Regions from separate parts of the Homo sapiens genome. Here regions 1, 3 and 4 are each linked to region 2. Evidence: promoter capture Hi-C in 16 types of primary human blood cells and fetal thymus (Javierre and others, 2016). All regions are on one chromosome and are shown on one strand. Each heading gives the region's core, a stretch centred on a gene start or on the middle of the fragment in contact. The rest is flanking DNA. Distances are from core to core; before and after follow the strand shown. Region 1 overlaps CTNNAL1 (catenin alpha like 1). Region 2 holds the start of FRRS1L (ferric chelate reductase 1 like). Region 3 overlaps CTNNAL1 (catenin alpha like 1). Region 4 overlaps CTNNAL1 (catenin alpha like 1).

Region 1 (5,061 bases), core at 704-3,203, 170 kb before region 2:
AAGAAACCAGTCCAAACAATCCTAACGATCATACCTCCATCCAAACTAAAAAGTATGTATTTATCTGAAGATTGTAAAATGTGATGAATACATACATTTTGTCTATCTCCACTCAGATGTGCAAACTCCACCATTTCATTTCCAAATTGACTGAATATTTGGACAAACTCTTGAAAGCTATTCACTTTCTCTAGTCTTTCCATAGTTGCGAGAACCTGCAAAACAGATAATAATTCATTATTTGGTGAGAGCTACTCAAGAGACTGAGATTGTCAAGGCTGAGTAGAGAGAAGAAAAGGAAAATTCTGAATTCTAGGTGAAAGCTGAGGAGGAGGAGCCAGATAGAAGACACACAAGGGGATGCTCAGAGAAGTAGAAGTAGATTCAAGGCACAGAATTATTAGGGGAATGATTTGTTTATATGATGAGATTTTGAGTTACTTGAAAAGGAAAAGGAAAAAGAATAAAAGAAATGACTACATATACAAAGGAAGGGATCATTTATGTAGCCAAGTCTAAAAGGTGGGAATGGGCAGGACCACAGTAATCAAATCTTCAGAGAACTGGGAAGGGGTGAGGATGAAAGTCAGCACACACAAGCTTTAAGGTTCAGTGAACCAGGATGATAGGAACCCTAACATTCTCAGGAAAGCAGAAGGAACCTCATCATCTTCAGAGTATAGAGTCGAAAGGGAAGTGTGGGACTTTAAGGGTGGGAAAATTAGTCTGGCTCAGTCAGGAATGGGCCATCAGGGGTGAATAAAGAGTGTGTGAATCTGGTAGAGCCAGTGACTAAAATGTTATGTGTTTTCTTGATGTAAGAAACAAAGTAAATAGATGTGAAACATATTTTCAAATACTTTTCTTTAAAATAACATTATTAGATTGTTTTAGTCGCAACAAGATAAGTTAAAAAAAAACACAGATATCCTCTGTTTACTTATTTTTCCTGAGAATATGATGAATATTTGGCATGTTAATCTGCCCTGGCAGCTCAGGAAGTTCAGGCGACTAACACTGATAAGGCACGTTGCCACCACTGTGAGAACCTCCATCTTTCAAAGAGGGGAAGGTTGTTTGTATTTCTCCAGCGCTGCCAGATCCACCTCTCCAATTTCTGATTCATTCAACACTTATCAAGTGGTTTTATCCTCAAATCCTCTAGGACAACTCCTTCCCTGGCCAACTGCTCTCCTCTTTGCCTAGGGAATTATCCAAAGCAAGAAGTGATCGTACATACCCTGGATTCCCAGATGATCATGGAGCATGACCATCATCTGAGAGATTAACTTCTGGACTGGAAGAGTTTAAATCTGTTCTGTAAGTTTTGAGATTATTCAGTAACATTTAGGGACTCTGAGTACAGAAATTTTGTAGTTGTGGATAATTATCATTTCCACTGATTTAACTGTGTCTTAAGTTATATATTGTTAGTCTCTGATTTGGGAGGGAAAAAAAGTACAGAAGAATTCAGTATTTTTATCAACTAGGTTTCTGCTACATACATTATCATAGTGCTCACCTTTTCTTTCCAAATGTTGTACACATTTAAAGCTTTTACCAATAAGCCTTAACAAGTGGATAATGATTCTCTAAGAGGAGACATTACTTGCATTCAAAAGTTTAGGCACAGCATACCCATCATTTAAGAATTGCACATATAGAAGAAACACTACTTTTAAACTACAGACAGAGTTATAAACAATTATAATAGACAAGCATTGCCAAATTACTTACAATTAACCTAAAAAGAACTTTTCTTTTTTTTTTTTTTTAAGCAACGCTCAGACATGCATAGCCCCGGGAGGAACCCAGGGCCACAAGTGCATTCAACGTACAGATGATCAGTGTGTCAATGTATCCTGCATTGCACATTAATTCCCACAGCTAGCTGCATTCTTCATCGACACACAAGCCAAGCAATCCACCACTAAGAGTCATAAAAAGCACTTTGAACAACACAGAAAGACAAAAATACAGCAACATCAGAAAGGTAAGTACCTTATTTCTTGATGTTATTATCTGTTTAATGACTACTCGGTCTGCCAGCAACAACACTTTTGTCACTGAAGAAAGAAGTAATCTTGCAGCCTTTATCACTCCTGTTTTGTCTGTAAAAATTGTGATCTGCCCATCAGATTCCAGATGGTTCAAGTTGGTTATGTCTGTAAGTGCTGCAATTGTTTCTCCTAACAAGAAAGACGAGGGGAGAAAGTTAAACAGGCATACAAATTAAAATCTAGACTTCTCTCTAACCTTGAAGGTAAGGCACAATGAGGAGAAACTCAGCTTTGGAGTCTTACTTCAGGAACAAGAAACGGTTTCACCTTGACGATTGTAGGGATTATCATACGAAGCTTTCTAACCAGAAAATAATAGCACACTCTTAAGAACTGTGACAAATTTTGCCCTCACCCAGTTTGAAAAACATCATAATTTTTGTTTCCAGTGGTAATGCAAACTACACAATCTAAAAGCCTCCTGCCCTACAAGACAGTAAGAGAAATCCCATGAGTCAAAAACCAAAGAATACCCTAAAACCCGAGCAGTAAGCAGGTGCCAAGGCTTGGGCTGGGGCGAGGCCGGGGAGAAGTCAGGGGTCACTGCCAATCTCCACAAGCTGAACGGCCTTGGGTTTTCACCCTTGGGTTTTCACGGATCCTCAGAGAGAGAAAAAAGACAGGGCTTTAGGCCCCAAGGGATGACATCTTCAATATAATGGGGGCCCGGAAAGAACTGTCAATAGGCAAAAAGAAACAATAAGGAAGTTTGTCTGTCAGTCAGCCTGGACTTTGGGTGGGGAAAGTAAACAAAACAAAAGCCTCCCTCCTGAGAATTCAAACCACAGGCTGGCCCTCATTTAGGCTACAGTTTGAATTTATATAAACTTCTTATGATGCCCAGCATAAACCATTCTATTAATTGAACTCCCAACCCTCTAGAAAAATTATCTTCTTCACTGTTGCTATCAAAACTTTTGATTTCTGTAATGGTAATTATCTACTAATAAAACAATCCAAGTATTCTTGTATTATAATACAAGGCTACAATATTCTTCAAACCTCCATACTGTTAAAAAGATTTTTAAAATAATAAACCTTTAACCAACTTATAGTGTTCAAGATCATTTTTTAAAGTCCTAAATATACCTGTGTGCCTAATGGATTGATTTTCTTACAAAAGCCCTCCTGTCAATTCTATTACATACACACAATAATGTGTCAGCTCATAGGCTAAGGATCTTGAGTAAAAAGTACTGGAATCTTAATGGAGAGGCCACAGGGTGAAGTATAAGTCAAGGTTTGGAAAGATCAGTCTGGCAGGCACAGTGGCTCACACCTGTAATCCTAGCACTTTAGGAGGCCGAGGCGGGTGGATCACCTGAGGTCAGGAGTTCAAGACAAGCCTGGCCAACATGGCGAAACTCGGTCTCTACTAAAAAAATACAAAAATTAGCCAGGTGTGGTGGCAGGGGCCTGTAATCCCAGCTACTCAGGAGGCTGAGGCAGAGAATCGCTTGGACCTGGGAAGCGGAGGTTGCAGTCAGCTGAGATGGCGCCACTGCACTTCAGCCTGGGTGACAGAGTGAGACTTGGTCTCAAAAAAAAAAAAGAAAGATCAGTCTAGTAGGAGTACATAAAATAGAATGGAAAGGAAAGACTTAGAGCCAGGCTATTGTATCAATTGTGGGTGTGAAATAGTAGGGACCTTACTAGTATAGTAGCCATAGGAACATTAAGAAGATGATTTGGGAAACATTAAGAAAACACAAAATTAGTACCTGACCAATGATAAGAAGGAAAGAACGAGTAAAAAAATGGCCTCAAAGTTGTAAACCTAAGTTGCTTAAAGAAAATCGAAGGGCATTGGAAGAGAGATGATAATTTTACTGTCAGACAACAGGAGTTTGAAATAACACAGGAATACACCAAAGATAAGTCGCAAGACATGGACTGGTAATGCAGACTTGGATGTCTTGTGTATAATGACAATAGCTGAAGCTCTACAGATAGAGGAATTCTGTGGTAGCCAGCCTTCAAGATCGCTCCCCATGATCCCCACCTACTGTTATTGACAACCTTGTGCTGTCTGTCCCCTCCCACATCATACCAGGGTTGGTATGGTGGAAGTGGTGGTATGTCACTCCCAAGCTTAGGTTCTAAAATAACTGAGGCAGCTGTCTGGGTTGCTCTCTCTCTCTGAGAGAAGCCAGTTGCCATGTCATAAGCAGCCCTTACTACACAGATAACTACGTGGAGAGGAAGTGAGGCCTCCAGCCAACAGCCAGCAAGGAAGTGAAGCCTGCCAACAACCATGAGAGGGAGGCTGGAAGCAGACCTGCAGTGCACTCAAGCTTCCAGGTAACAGAGGCCTGGTCAACACACTGACCGCTACCTCATGAGACACACTGACCCTGAGCCACCCAGTGAAGCCACTCCCTGATTGGTGCCCTCTCAAAAACTGACATAGTAAATGTTTGTGGTTTTAAGTTGCTAAGTTTGGGTTAATTTGTTACACAGAAATAGGTAGCTAATACAGAGTTTTCATAGCAAAGAACAGAGAACAAAAGTGCTTAGAATTAACCTTAAGGCATACAGAAAGGGCAGGAGGAAAAGTATCAGTTTGCATCCTATCATTAATAGCTAAAAGGATAAAAATGTTTCCTCTGATCCTCTGGAAAATGTTAATTTTTTTCTACACCTCTCAACCACAAAGGATACGACATATAAGCCTGCACATATGGCATTATTCAACCTTTCCTTTTTCTGACTAGACCCCAGGCATTTAACTCATAAGTACGTGGGACAGTAACATTTGGTTGGCTCCACCAACATGGGCAAATGCTTTCTTAACATTATAAAGTTGTTCAAAGTGTAAACTGTTCAGAAATCAGTTCCCTAAAAAAGTAACAAAGCTGTCTTACAGCTTCACAGGTATCATTTTTAATTTATTATATGTCATTACTAGTGCTGTGCCTTAATAGGAAAACCCAAGGTCAATCAAACACAAATATTTGTTGAACTTCCATATAAAACATAAATATAAACCTTGCCTGGTAGC
Region 2 (5,151 bases), core at 673-3,172:
TGAACTTCTCTTTTTCTTTCCCTCAATCTTGAACAAGGACATGCAACCTGGCTTCTACTGTACTGATGAGGACAAAGCCTCAGGGGGATGGCAGAGCAACAAGATGGAAAGAACCCGGGTCCCTGAATGACCTTGCGGAACAGAGTCATCCCACCAGCCCCAGACCAACCAGACTCTTATCAGAGAGAAAAATAAACTAGCTTATTTAAACCACTATATGTTAAAATCTCTAATTCAGCAGTTAAGCCTCTACTTAATACATTTCCCCAAATCCATTCTCTCCATCTTCTTTAATACAATAATTCTGATTTTTGAACTGGGCATATTATGTCTCAGCTAATAGGCTCTATTTTACATCCTCCTTTGTACCTATGTGCAACCATATGATTAAGTTGTGGCCAAAGAAGTATAAAAATTGTTATATGAAACTTCCGAGTAATCCCTTTATAAAGTAGTCAGTGACCTTCTTCCTGCTTCATTTTTCCCACTGTCTAGAATGTGAACATAATGGCTGTAGCTCAAGCAGTTATTTTGAACCATGAAGTTACATGCTAAGAATTGTGAAGAAACAGAAGGGCAGGATCCAGAGACACTGGTGACCAAGGAGCCTCCAGACCAGTTCTGGATTACCTATTTCTAGTTTTCTTTCTGTAAGAGAGAAACTTCTATCTTGTTGAAGCTATTAATGTTTGCTTGTTGTATACAGCTGAACTTAATCCTAACAACAGACACATCCACTAACAGATATGAGCTCCTGGGACTCAACACTTCAAACCCCAGCTTGATGGTTGGATATCCCTCTTAGCAGAAGAAAAGGAAAGTCACTACTTCCCAAAGTTGCTTAAAGAGGCCAGTTTCCATTCCTTCTGACCACCATCCGCTTGGCTTTTGTGCTCGTTGAAGCAGCTCTACAGGGAGGCCCTTGGCTGACAAACTCCCAGTCTGCGGGCCCAGCAGGCCACAACAATGGTGGCTCGCACTAGGGGACCATAACATATGTGGCGTCATAAAAGAGGAGGGATGGGAGTGGGGAGGCTGATGTGACCCAGCTCTGACGGGTCAGTGAGCAGGAACAGAATGCTACGAGGTGGGCGCTGGTCACTGCAAATTTAAGTCAATACAGACAGGGAGGAAATAAGGCAACCTCTCTCTTTAGGTTGGGGTTTTTCTGCTTCCCCCTAGCTGCCCTGGCCAGATGGCGGCCTCCTCCCCTATAACCCAACCCCAGGCGGCAAAGGTGGAAGCCAGATCTAAGAACTGGGGGAGCTTAGACTCAGCACCCACCCCTATCCACAGCCTTGCAGAACTTGGATGACCCCTCCCTCTCCCAGCCTCACTCTCCCCATCTGTAAAGCGGGCGGCAGGCATTGACAGCTCTTTGGGCCTTTCCTCCAGGCCGGCGGAGGCCTGGGCACTGCGCTCCCCATCCTGGCCTCGCCTCTGCAAGAGCTGCCTCCACGGACATCTTTTCCGACCCCCTCCCCCTCCCTCGCCCCCTCTCCTCGTTCCCCCGATCCTCGGTCCCCCACCCCCGGTCTCCCCTCCCGCAACCCCTCGCCCTCCCGCAGCCTCACCCTCCTCCGACAGGTAGCGCAGGTCGTAGAACTCCCCCGCGAAGGTGCCGTAGGAGGAGTCGTGGCGCGGCACCGCCTCGTCGGCGCCCGTGTCCCCCCGCGCGCGTCCCCGGGGTCCCCGGCCCCCCGGGCCCGCACCGTCGTCCGCGGGGCTGGCTGCGCAGGCGGCGGGCCCCGTCAGTAGCAGCAGGAGCAGCGACGCCCAGACCCCCGGGTGCTGCCGGGGCGGCCGCGCCATCCGTGCGCACAGATCCCGCAGCCAGGCCGCTCGGGCCGCAGCGGGGGCGCCGCGGGCGCGGGCCGGGACTGAGCCTCCGCCGAGGCCACCAGCACGCGCCCGCGCAGCCGCGGAGCCTCCCGCACCCCCGCCTCCCTGCCTCGGTCTGCGCATCCTCGCTCCAGCACCGCAGCCTCCCCCTTCTTCTTGGAACCCCCCTCCTCCCCGCACCGATCTCTCCTTCCTAGCAGCTTCCCTTCTACCGTCCTTCTTTCCATTCTCCCCATCTCCCCGACTTCCCTCCACGCAGGCAGATTTGGCCCTTCTGGCCCCTTGCTACTCCGGAGTGTGGTCCGCGGACCGGCAGCATCAGCATCACCTGGAAGCTTGTTAGCATCGCTGAGGCCCCACTCCAGACCCATGAAGCGGGATGTTCATTTCATCAAAATTCCCAGGAGATCCCAATGCACGTTCAATTTATGAAACGCTCCTCTAGAGAGTTTACCCTGGACACACCTGGTCAGTGCTGCCTCCTCAACCTTGTGCCGGCACTTTTTGGTTTACATAAAGCACTTGCTAGACCTATTATTTCTTGGATCATCACAGAAGGAACTTGAAATTGCAAGACCCCCACAATAGAGCTAGGTAAACTGAGGTGTTTAGAGACAGAGAAAACTGGATTCACCTGCTTCCTCTCCAGGCTCTTGCGGTGTGTAATCAACAGAGGCTGGTGCCAGTAGGTAACCTGTTCCCCTTCAAAACTAGGCTTCTGGTTTACTCTCTTTCCCTGCAGCAAGCACGCGCAGGCCTTGGAAGGCCCACACCGTATCTGAGGGCCATGCTGAATTGTTGATTTTTCTCAAATCCATTCCTGCTGCTTGCAGTTCACTTTTGGCTATTTACTCAGCCATCCATTGATTCACACCAAGCATTTGCTTTATGGCAGGTCCCAGGGTTCTCTTTTGATGATGGTTGTTGGGGTGATATATTCGAATTGCTAAGCTGTTTTCCATCAGAGAGGCGGACGCAATTCCTTTCAGGCTGGTGTTGCAGAGCCAGCATTTTAACCTGCTTTTCCTATTTTATTATTTTATTTTATTGCATAAACAAAATAATTATGGAGGCAGAAAAGCATAGAGGTCCCAAATGCAGACCTAGAAGTCAGACTGCCTGATCTCTCATGATTAGTCATTGACATGATGCAATGAAGATTAGGGAAGATCATAGAGGTAAGGATCAATAGGGTTCAGTGCTGTAAGTGGCATGCACACATGTACACAATATTGTGAAATGTTAATATTCAAAAGGAAACTAGTGATCTTAACCCTTTATGGCCTGATTGGCTGAGAGATAAGGGTAGTGCTGTTGAAACAGGGGAGACATGATGGGGGACTTAGAAGTCAGGTATTTTCTATTAGGTATCAGCTAACAGTGGGCTGTCCAACTGGAATTTAAACATATTAATCCTGATGGCTGAATTGAGGTGTAATTCATGAAAACCTTGGGCTTCACTAGGTCCCCCAACATAGCAGTTGTCACAAAAAATAGATCAGATTATTTGAAAAAGGTAAGATGAACTATGATTACTTTAAAAACTCAAGAGACTTCTTCCCAAAAAGCATAGCGTGGCAATGCATAACATTCTAAAAAAGCTGATCCAACAGATTGAAAATCTGTTAAAGTGTAGTCCTTCAAAAAAAAAAAAAAAAACAAAAACAAAAACAAAAACCTTAAACCTTTCTTAAAAATTAAAATTTCTTTATTTTCTTTTCTTCTCTTTCTGTTCACCAGGGAAGGTATGGTCAACTTAGAATGGACCAAAGTTTAGCCAAAAAAATAAAGCATTAGACTTTTGATTTCAGTGTAGATTCTCTGGTTTGGGAATACAAGCTTTTACCTCTTACTTTCCTTTTTATTCCCTTCATTTTGGTTACTGAAATTAACAATAACGGTGCCCAAATAGAAGGCAAATGAAAACCAGGCCATTCTTCTCCGAGTAAATTAATCTGATATAAAAACACGTGGGCAGCCGGGCACGGTGGCTCACGCCTGTAACTCCAGCACTTTGGGAGGCCGAGGCGGGCGGATCACAAGGTCAGAAGATCGACACCATCCTGGCCAACACGGTGAAATCCCGTCTCTACTGAAAATACAAAAAATTAGCCGGGCATGGTGTCGGGCGCCTGAAGTCCCAGCTACTCGGGAAGCTAAGGCAGGAGAATGGCGTGAACCTGGGAGGCGGAGCTTGCAGTGAGTCGAGATCAGGCCACTGCACTCTAGCCTGGGCGACAGAGCAAGACTCCATCTCAAAAAACAAACAAAAAACAAACAAAAAAACAAAACAAAACAAAAAAAACCACCACCACGTGGGCTTTCTATATTGTTTTTATGGGGGTATTTGGGTATTTTGGGGACGGTTTACAACTACAGCCTAAAATGAAGTTTGCAGGTAAACTGTGGATTTCAATTCTCTCTCTACTCATGTAGACTCACAGGGGGCCACAGATAGGCTTCAGGGGTGATATGAGGACCTTATGAAAGTGCTGGAATAATGTTGTGATGTATGGGTTTTTCTAGGGAGAAAACCCATAGCTTTTTTTATGAATTATTTTTTCCATGTTCAACTTTTTTTTTAATTTACTTTAAGTTCTGGGATACATGTGCAAAATGTACAGGTTTGTTACATAGGTATACATGTGCCATGGTGGTTTGCTGTACCCATCAACCCGTCATCTAGGTTTTAAGCCTGCATGCGTTAGGTATTTGTCCTAATGCTCTCCCTCCCCTTGCCTCACCCCCCACAACATGCCTCGGTGTGTGATGTTCCCCTCCCTGTGTCCATGTGTTCTCACTGTTCAACTCCCACTTATGAGTGAGAACATGCAGTGTTTGGGAAAACCTATAGCTTTTATGGGTCACTCAAGCCTTATGCCTTTTCAGGGCCCAGCAACCTATTCGGCTCCTTCCATTTCATGAGATTCTCTCCCATCCACTCAAATTGCCTTTGGGGATTTTCTTTCTCTTCATGTTTTCTGACACGATTTAAGTCCTGGAAAGAGTGGAGGCAGACCTATTCCAACCTTAAGCACATGCTCCCCTCTTAGTTACATCCTAGGTTTGCAGAGACCCTCTGTTCCCCACCAATGTGACTCTACAGAACAGCTAAGAAATATTGTAGTTTCCTCTACTGTGCAAATTTTCTGGGGAGGAACTTTGCCTGAACATTCTGAGACCACTGGCTGTACAAGAGCTGGCCACTCAAACAAAAACTTAGAGATGAACCAGATTTAAATTCATTTTCATTTTAAAAAGAAAGACAGTACCTTTATTTTCTCTCCACCTCAAAGCAATTTCTCTGAC
Region 3 (4,627 bases), core at 984-3,483, 220 kb before region 2:
CTTTCACTAGAGAACAGTATTTTTTCAGGTATGCAAAAATATTATCTAATGAAAGTACAAGTGGGGGTTGGAATTTTTAAGTTTTAATTATTTACAAAATAATACTTACTTATTTTGTAAATAAAACAACATTTTGGTTCATAGGAAAAACTTGTAATCTGAGTGCCAGCATGACTATCCCCCTAAATATACCCCCCAGACATGATACATGTAGTAAGTGGATAAACACCTCCACGATGGTGCTATTAGCTGAAAATATAAACAAACCAGCAGATCCTCACTTTAAGTAGCACAATGACTCTTGAAGGCGTCATAAAACTATGACAGTAAACGTAGTAAAAGAATTGTGTATAACATTTTACATGTAACATTACCTCACATCATTCTCCCATTATTTCTATTGTAATTTAAAAGAGTACTTTGGTTTCAGAGAATAAAAATCATGCTTAATGATTTTGACTGTTTAAGGAAAGATTTTAAAAAGGTTATTAACAGAGCTGAGTGCATCACATTTTCTCCCGAAGGACTACAGTGAAAATTTTCCTCAATAAAATATTGACTAGCTGTGGTCAATTGGCATTACTGTGGTTCTTCCGGATCTTTTGTGAATACTGATTGTGGTGGCTGACCCAGATAAAGATCATCAGATAAGCTTATATTATCTACTGCCATTTGATAACTGACATACCCTGTTAGATTTCAAAATGAATGTCAAAGCATTAAGATACAAATACTACGACTGAAGTCTAACACAAAGTTGGCCATACTATATTATAAGGAGAAAACCTATAAACCAGATCCTTCAATCATGACCCCACCCACAAAAACAAGAAAAGCTTTAAACTCCTAAATTAAAAAGACTAAAGAAAGATGTTTTTTGTTTTGTTTTATAGTGAACATTTCAAATGTGTGATATTCAGAATTTAAATAGATTCTTGGCTTCCTTATTCTGTCTTTGTCTTCCATTCCATCAATCAATACTGAGAAAGTTCAAAATATCTTTTAAGTCTATAAGATAGGCTTAGAATCCCAGCTAATATTCAGGGCAGACTGGCCAGCTATGCTAGAACTAGAACCAAAAACCCATCTCATACTCTCCAGGAGTTGTTCCAGGATTCTGTGGAGTTCCATTACCTTACTTTTGGGAGTAGGTGAGGGACATACACAGCACAGCAGACCCACCCTTGCTGTACAAAATGCTTATTAGGGAACAAACTTGCTGCTGGCATGGACAATCTGGGACAGGGTCATCAAGGGGATTTTTGTCACACTTGGTAAACAGAGGGATTGAAGAGTCCACAGGTTTAAGGAAAACCCTGCATTCACCCAGACTACTGTATGTTTGCTGCTGACATTAGTGATCTAGATGATAAAGAAAACAGTTAAGGTAAAATATGCCAAAGCTAAGCACATATTCAAAATAGCTTCTTGTGGATTAAATTGTCCTTGAGACAGTTGGGATATTTGGTTTGACTTTTAAAGAACATTAGTGCAATGTTCTATTTTAAAAATCACACTACAATTAGAATCTAGCAATTACCAAGACATTTATTAGTTGTCAAAAAGCTTTACAATCAGTTTCATGATCAGAAAATAGAGCAAAATTTCAATATTGTTTTCTTTATAAAATTGATGAATTTCTGAAAAGATAAAGGATCATTTGATTTTTAAAAATGTCAGCTTCATCACATGATGTTCCAGAGATCTGACCCCAAAAGCTTCTCAAGTTTTACTATCCATAGTGTCCTTATTTGTAACTGAGACCCATCCGTTATTTTCCATCTGAAGCTGGAAAGAGTTAAGACAATTAGTATCTGGTTTCACTCTGAAAAAAAAATTACAAAATTAAGTAGTAACTATTTTCTTTTAAACCATTTTTTAAAGTATGAGTCTAAAATAGAAAAACTACCTCACCTTCTTCAGCAGTTTATAACAAAGTGAAAGAAGTTGGACTAAGAGAGCCATCATGGATCTTGTCTTCGTAATACACTTGTCAACCTACAATGACAAAAAGCATGCAAATGATATTCTAAAAGTAGTACTTAAAAGACCTTACCATTTATTTAGTTTTAACATGATAAAATTTCTCCATATGGAAATCTAAGGGATCTTGAAAGAGATATGGATTTAGGCACATGAGCTGACTCAAAGCCCCAGGACACAGGTGCAGGGGTAGCTGCCTAGATTTCATGTCTATCTCATGGAACCCCAGCAGAAAGAGTGGGTGGAAAATTAATCATTCTACTGCAGGCTGTTTAGGGGCTTCTCAAAACACTCCAAATAGTGGAATTAAATCCCATCCTTTGCAATTCCTTGCACTCTATTTTGTGGGCACAAACCCATATTCTCTCAGACAAATTATGGGAGACCAGACTCGGAGGCACCTGTGTCCTAGTTGCAGAGGTAATGACTTCAGAATTGAAGGGCAGCTGTTCAGTGCTATGGAATTAATGATGTCCAAAAAACTACTTTATTTGGTGAATCTGCTACTCTCTGGGGTCAGTTATGAGAGTAGATAATAAATGATTCTTGTAGACAAGGCATGAAAAAAGGAAATAAATTGCCCTTCTGTGGGTACTAACAGTTTATTTGAAGAAAAAGGGGCTTTAACCAGATAAAGATAGATGTGTGAAAGTTTTTCATATGTCTCTTTTACCTTTAGAAATACTTTATTCTGCAAAGAAGTCTTAGTTACTGTCTGGAGCTGGTGGCATAGAGGAATTAGCTTGTTTATTTCCAGGAGAAGCATAAGCTTGTCATCGTCTTTCAGCTGAAATGTAATTTAACAAGTTATAACAGCCCGCAACAAAACTCCATCTTTAATACCTTAAACACATTTATACATTGATATTATACCCCCAAAGTAGGTTATACATAATACCACCACCAGCTCCAGGTAGGTAGACATGTGTTACCTGTTTTGAAAAAGCTTGAACACTGGAAGTAAGCTTTAAACCCTCTGCAGCAAAAACCTGGTAGAAAGAGAAAACACCACTATTTTAGACTGATGTCTATGGATAGTTGGTAAGAAATATACTTACTAATAATTTTTACGTAGAATTTTAAAAATAAAGCCTAGATATAAAAAGTCTGTCAGGAACTCCTAAACTTTTTCCAGTACCAGGAATGCACAAGGGTTTAACTGTTTTCAGAAGGAGTTTCCACAGACCAGATGCAGAATCCATCCCTGGAGAGGCTTCTCTACACCAGACCTCCAATTATTCTGGAGGGTCACACAGACCTGTGATATTCAGCCACACAAATTATGTCTAGATTACGCAAGGGACCTAGAGCTCATCTCAAATATGCTCAATTATAAAAGGATGATGAATTTTCAAGCATGAGGTCAAAAGGGTTAGGACCTTCCCAATTCCATCTAGGCAAGACAAAATTTGTCACCCATACATATTCCATAACCAGACATTTGAGAGAACCAATCCAGGTGGTTGGTTTTTGTTGCCACTTTTTTTCAGATTAATTTTCACTATTCACCATGTACCATGAATTCTATAATTTAATGAGATGAACAGGATGATGGAGAAGTAGAGTGAAAAAGAAGGTTGTACAGGTAAGACAGAAGTATTTAGCATATTATGTTAAAATGGTTTGCAGACTATTTTAGAGTGAGATGCCAGGGGAGTAAAGGGAGGAAGGCTTAGTTTTAGGTGGCGTCAGTAATAATGGAGAGAACAGGGAAAATCTGAGAGTGGTTTGTGAATGAAAATAATAGGTCTTCATAATAAATTAAAGAATACTAAGAAGGAGGAGGCAATAATTCCAGGGTTAATTTTTACCCTCTATTCAAAAGGCTTAACACCTTGCTATCACTGGATAAAATGATCTCAAGGTCAAATCGTACTTTGCAACCTTCCCTTTAAAAGGGAAACCAGTAAGCTTTACATCTAGACTCCAACCAAATGAAATGATTCACTTCCCCAAGTGTTCCTTATCACTTCATGTTACCACTTTCTATTCTGCAAATTTTCTCTTTCCTTCTAGCCTGCAAACCCCTTGGGGACAAAATCCATGTCTGTCTCATACAGTATGATGGTTTTAAAACTACCTGAAAGCTGGTAACTCCCAGGTCTCTCTCTCCACTCCTGAACTATCCTGACATCAGTCTTGTACAGTCATCCCTCAGTATCCATGGGAGATTGGTTCCCAGACCTCCCCAAGGATACCAAAATCTGTAGATGCTTAAGTCCCTTAAATAAAACAGTGTAGTATTTGCATATAACCTACACACATCATCCCATAAACTTTAAATCATCTCATCTCTAAATTATAATATCTAAGTTAATGTAAATGCTAAGTAAATCGCAGTTATACTGTATTGTTTTCCCTCCCTTGGAACTCTAACCTTTTAAAATGTATTTTGTTTTTTTTTACTGTTGTTATATTTTATTGGTTTTCTTCCTTTTTTTTTTTTTTTTGAGACAGGGTCTCACTCTGTTGTCCAGAGTGAAGTGAAGTGGTGTGATCACAGCTCACTACAGCCTTGACCTCCCAGGCTCAAGCGATCCTCCTGCCTCAGCTGCCTGAGTAGCTAGGATTACAGGTGTGTGCCACCATGCCCCGCTAGTTTTTTTTTTTTTTGTTTTGTTTTTTTGTAGAGACAAGGTCTCAC
Region 4 (5,132 bases), core at 863-3,362, 200 kb before region 2:
CATACTTTACAAATGATGTTATAGCTATAATTCTATTATGCCCTGATTTTTAAGCAAATTAACATTTATCCTAAATGAGTATTTTTAAAATATGAAATGTTTAAATGGGCATACTCAATAAAAAATATGTAATTTGATATAATTGTAAATGACATTTTATTTAAAAAAATAAGCAAGCTTTGACACTACAGAAGCCATTTGAAGAGAAAAAATATAAACATGTAAATATAAATAACAGGACACACAGTACAATGGAAAATAAACAAAACTTCCACTCGGTATTAAAATAAAGAATAAAAATGATGCCTTCCTATACATTGTATGGCACTATTCTACATGTTGTAGAAATACCAATGAACTTACCCACCACAGGCAATATTCCAAGATTATGTAGTCATCAAGGAAAGAGATTCCATCCAAGTGGAAGGAAAGCAATTCAAAAATCAAATAACTACATTCATTTCATTATGAAGTTAGTAGAATTAAAACATAGAATTACTGCATTATAGAAGAGCTGTTGTATTATAATTAAAAAACAATTCAGAAGAAATTTAAAAATGACTATTTCAATAGGAAAACTAGGATGTTAATATTAATTCAGAGATCTACTATGCTGTTTGTTTTATTTATTTATTTATTTATTTATTTATTTATTTTTTGAGACAGAGTCTTGCTCTGTCGCCCAGGCTGGACTGCAGTGGCGCCATCTCAGCTCACTGCAACCTCCGCCTCCCGGGTTCAAGTGATTCTCGTGCCTCAGCCGTAGTATCTGGGATTACAGGCGCACATCAACACATTCGGCTAATTTTTGTATTTTTAGTAGAGACAGGGTTTCACCATGTTGGCCAGGTTGGGCTCGAACTCCTGGCTTCAAAGTGATCCACCTGCCTTGGCCTCCCAAAGCGCTGGGATTACAGGTGTGAGCCGCCACACCTGGCCTACTACACTGTTGTACAACAAACTTTACTGCTTGGATACTAAAATAAAGGAGGATAAAATAATATTTTTGTAATTTTTTTGTGAACAATATTTTACTACAAAAATAACCCAGCTGGGTTACGACAAGAATTCATTTGCAGTTGAGGTTTGGCATTAAAAAACTAACAAGAGTTACATTAAAATAATAACATATTTCATTATGTGGACAGTTTCTCACCTCGTCTTCCTTCAAACACGTCATTGATTTCTCTCAGCAGTGTTGACATGTCACTAATTTGGGATTCCCAAGCTTCACAAAATACATCTAGGTTTTCTTTAGCAATTTTACTAGATGGATGCAATGTCAATGTTTCAGCAGCAGAAATTATCTAAAGAAACACAATATACACCTGTGTGAATTTCAAAATCTTAGCCCTCAGAATCACTTTGAAGACCAAAGGTAAGTAAGTCTGCTGTTCAATTCAACTCAATAAACAACTATGAAGTAATTTCTATACACAAGCTCCATGTTGGGCAATATGAAGATGCACAGTAGGACAAAATTTGCTGTTTCTTATAATCTGACCTGCAGACAAATAGTATGCATTATTATATACAAACCTGCATTCAGGGAGCAATTCTCTTCACTCAAGTAAAACTCTGTTTGAACAAAGTTGTTCCCATAGAATAATTCAAACAGTTATACTCAGACCACAAAAAGTGTACTGTATACAGAGTAGCAAAGGTAGCAGTAATAGTGGTGGTGGTAGTAGCAGTGGTAATAGTAGGAATGGTAGTGATAATAATAAGTAACATATATACACACCCATGAGTACTTGGTAGATACATGCTTGAGATACTGTTTGGTGTTTGAGATACATTAATACATTAATATCCCCCAAAATATACAAATAAAATACTACTTTTTCCAAATAAGCATTATTCCATTTTTCAGCTGGAAAAGTTGAAGCTCCGAGATACCCAGTAACTTGTGCCAGACCCTATTACGAGTATACACAGAGTTGATATCTAAACTCAGATCTACCTGATCCAAGTTCAGGCTCTTTCCATCACATCACACTGCCACTCACAAAACACTTGTAAAGAGGGCAGAAATCATCCTGGTACTTTTACGTACCACCACATGGGCTAAATAAATGTGTTGAATAAATAAATAAATTGTTGCAGAGACTGCTATGTTTTCATCAAAATCTGTTTGTCTTCCCTCTGGATACATAGGAAGATTACATTTCCCAGCCTCCCTGGTGGAGACATATGGCCACGAGACTGAGTTCTGTCCCCACTTGAATGTGGGTCACCACTTCCATCCTAACTGATCCAAACCTCCCTCGTGCCCCTCAGTGCTCTCTCCCTTCCACATCTGATGGTTCAATGCACAGGCTCCAGTAGGGACTTTGAGGTCCTGAGGGCTAGCGAGGCACAAAATGAAAGGGGACCGGATTGCCAAGAGGGAGAAAGACATACCATTAATCAGGACTTAATACAAGTGAGAAATAAACTGCTATTATATTAAGCCTGAGATTTTGGCATTTGGGGTTTTATTTAGTGTTAGCTACTACATGAATGAATTAATGAATAACTAACATTTTATCTTTCATATAATAATCACTCTCTAACACAAAGGACTTGATGGATGCTAATTGTAATATAGGCAGAAAATGGATGGCTGGGTTGAGTCTTCACACACCTCCTGACCTGACATTCAGTAGAAATTACACTTTAGCTTCTACCTCAAAATAGAAGCCATCGACCAGACCCAACCTACTGAAATTTCCTGATGGCCCATTACATAAAACACACACACACAAAGATCCAGGAGCTAGGAATTCAGAGTTCAGTCTTGATATGTTCACAGCAGATCCTTTCCCTTCTACCACTTTCACCTTCTATTCATGACAACAGGCACTGATTCTGTCTACCTTCTTGTTTCACAGACTGGGGATATTATATCAAATACTCATCTAGTAAGTAGTATTTTAGAGAATCCACTATGTGAAAAAATCATGCTAGGTGCTGGGGATAAGGTGATAAAAAAAGAAGATAAAAGCCCTCTATTATGAAGCTTATACTCTAGTGGAGATTTGGAACTATAAACAAGCACACAATTAAAATACTATAAATTATGATAACTGCTATGAGGGAAATTAATAGGATAATGTGATAGAGATGCCCATTACTAACAAGTGATGTTGTTGTTCCATGGAGTTGATTATATGGGATTATTCACACACACATGTATACAACTAACATGACTATTCATTCACCCACTACATACTAGTAGGCACTGTGCCCACGTTCCAGGTGCTGGGGAAACAGCTGTGAATGAAACAGATAAATGTCCCTGGCTTCATGGGACTCACATTATAACAAGCAGTGGGAGAGACACAATTAAAATAAATTATAAAATATTTTAGAAGGGAATAAAAATATGTATCAAAATAAAGGGTGAGAATGATGGAGGGGATTAGGTGGTCACAGTATTTTAAGTTAGAGAGTCACTGAAAAGGTGAGGGAGCTACAGGAAAATCGAGGGGAAGTCATTTGGGATGGGGCAGAAACACTTCTGGAGTGTTCAAGGAACAGCAAGTAAGCCAGAGGAACAGACTGACATGAGCAAGAGGAAGGTGGCCAGTGGCCATGTAATGGAGAAGCATAGATGGTAAGGACTGGATTTTCTTCTGAGTGAGAAAGTCATTGGGGAACTTACAGAAGATTAATATGATCAGGGCCATGTTAGCTAATATATTAATAGTTGGTACCTTTGAATGAATTACAGGGCCATGTTAGCTAATATATTAATAGTTGGTACCTTTGAATGAATTACAGCTAGCTGTTCCTCCCTCTGGGGTGGGCATAGTGTCACAGGCACAGCACTTGCCAAGCAGATGGCAGTGTTATAAGAACAAGGTTCCCCTCTTCAGGGAAAGCAGGCACATAACTTGCCATGGACTACAGGCTAGATTTTGGCATTGCTCTCCTCTCAACTAGTGTACAAACTGTTCAACTGTTCCCTCAGTATGTCTAACATTTTAAAGGAAGTATAAAAATAACATTGCCAAAGCAGAGATATCCAGAAATAAATTATCCCAGAGGCATGCTCAATGTCCTTAAATTATCCTTTTGTGAGGCAGATGGCAAAGACTAGGAGTGGAAGCTAAGGCTTTGGGAACAGAAAAAGCTTCTCAAGTTATGCAGGTTATTAACAACATGCTCTGCCACTATCCTGGGGAAGAAAATATGGCTATTCCTAATATCTCTGCTGCAATAAAACAATAAACCAAAAATTGCAACCAGATGGCAAGCAGGGCCTGAGGATAGGAGCAACAACTGATTGCATATGGCAGGAGAGTCAAGCCCTCCAGTTCTATTGGAATACTTTTGCAGCCAAGGCAAGAAAAGTGACTCCCATGCCAATATTGAAGACACAGTTTCTCCCAGTAAACAGATCCCTTGGTTGTAATAAAGTGTTCAGCAGATAATCATTGTGGAGGTTCATTCATATAGTTCCTGCTTTCATGATAAGCCTTTGACACTGTTCTCTACAGGAGAGCATGAGATCATCCCTCCAACATCCAACATGATTCTCCTAGAGGGCACACACCATCGTTGAGTCTAGGTCACTTGCACTGTTCTCAGCTATAAATCAAAGATGCAGGGACTCAACCTCTACTGCCCAATATTGCAAGTTAGGAGGAATCCTTTTGGCTGACAGTAAATAAATGAATATAAATAAAGTATAAATTAAAATATAAATAATATTTAAAAAAATAAACAAAAGAACAACTGCAAAACGTTATTTTAGAGCTTAGACTCTAAGAAAGAAGGAAACAGCTGGGTGCAGTGGCTCACGCCTGTAATCCCAGCACTTTGGGAGGCCGAGGCGGGGGGATCATGAGGTCAGGGGTTTCAGACCAGCCTGACCAACATGGTGAAACCCTGTCTCTACTAAAAATAAAAAAATTAGCCAGACGTGGTGGCATATGCCTGTAATCCCAGCTACTCAGGAGGGTGAGGCAGGAGAATCGCTTGAACCTAGGAGGCGGAGGTTGCAGTGAGCCAAGATCGCGCCACTGCACTCCAGCCTGGGCGACAGAGCTAGACTCCGTCTCAAAAAAAAAAAAAGGAGGAAGCTCTGTCTTTAACCATTTTCCTTAGATTAATTTGACAGGAACAGTATTAAATGAGATAATCAG

The links. The method cuts DNA at HindIII sites, captures the fragments that hold promoters and counts their contacts. A CHiCAGO score of 5 or more calls a contact.
Region 1: a fragment that was not itself captured here is called in contact with the fragment with the promoter of FRRS1L in region 2 in 2 of 17 cell types (activated CD4 T cells and non-activated CD4 T cells); the score reaches 5.8 in activated CD4 T cells.
Region 3: a fragment that was not itself captured here is called in contact with the fragment with the promoter of FRRS1L in region 2 in 1 of 17 cell types (activated CD4 T cells); the score reaches 5.2 in activated CD4 T cells.
Region 4: a contact is called between a fragment that was not itself captured here and the fragment with the promoter of FRRS1L in region 2, in 2 of 17 cell types (activated CD4 T cells and total CD4 T cells). The highest score is 5.9, in activated CD4 T cells.

Annotation. Positions count from the first base shown.
Region 1 is chr9:108,990,631-108,995,691 of GRCh38, forward strand. CTNNAL1 (catenin alpha like 1) reads right to left here. Exons shown (of 19, transcript NM_003798.4): 3 at 2,002-2,189; 4 at 96-215. LOC105376216 (a long non-coding RNA gene) reads left to right here. Exons shown (of 7, transcript XR_007061724.1): 2 at 1,207-1,320; 3 at 1,779-1,993. It also overlaps the pseudogene RNA5-8SP3. Among named protein-coding and RNA genes, the nearest start is that of CTNNAL1, 20 kb to the right of the region's middle. The HindIII fragment of the contact is 803 bases long and covers 1,553-2,355 here.
Region 2 is chr9:109,165,327-109,170,477 of GRCh38, forward strand. FRRS1L (ferric chelate reductase 1 like) reads right to left here and starts at 1,923. Exons shown (of 5, transcript NM_014334.4): 1 at 1,575-1,923. The coding sequence starts at 1,812. The HindIII fragment of the contact is 4,411 bases long and covers 1-2,175 here.
Region 3 is chr9:108,941,047-108,945,673 of GRCh38, forward strand. CTNNAL1 (catenin alpha like 1) reads right to left here. Exons shown (of 19, transcript NM_003798.4): 16 at 2,916-2,972; 17 at 2,657-2,770; 18 at 1,915-1,998; 19 at 1,531-1,788. The coding sequence ends at 1,723. It also overlaps a transcript of ABITRAM not described here. Among named protein-coding and RNA genes, the nearest start is that of ABITRAM, 9.0 kb to the left of the region's middle. The HindIII fragment of the contact is 1,034 bases long and covers 1,717-2,750 here.
Region 4 is chr9:108,964,222-108,969,353 of GRCh38, forward strand. CTNNAL1 (catenin alpha like 1) reads right to left here. Exons shown (of 19, transcript NM_003798.4): 11 at 1,157-1,307. Among named protein-coding and RNA genes, the nearest start is that of ABITRAM, 32 kb to the left of the region's middle. The HindIII fragment of the contact is 1,773 bases long and covers 1,227-2,999 here.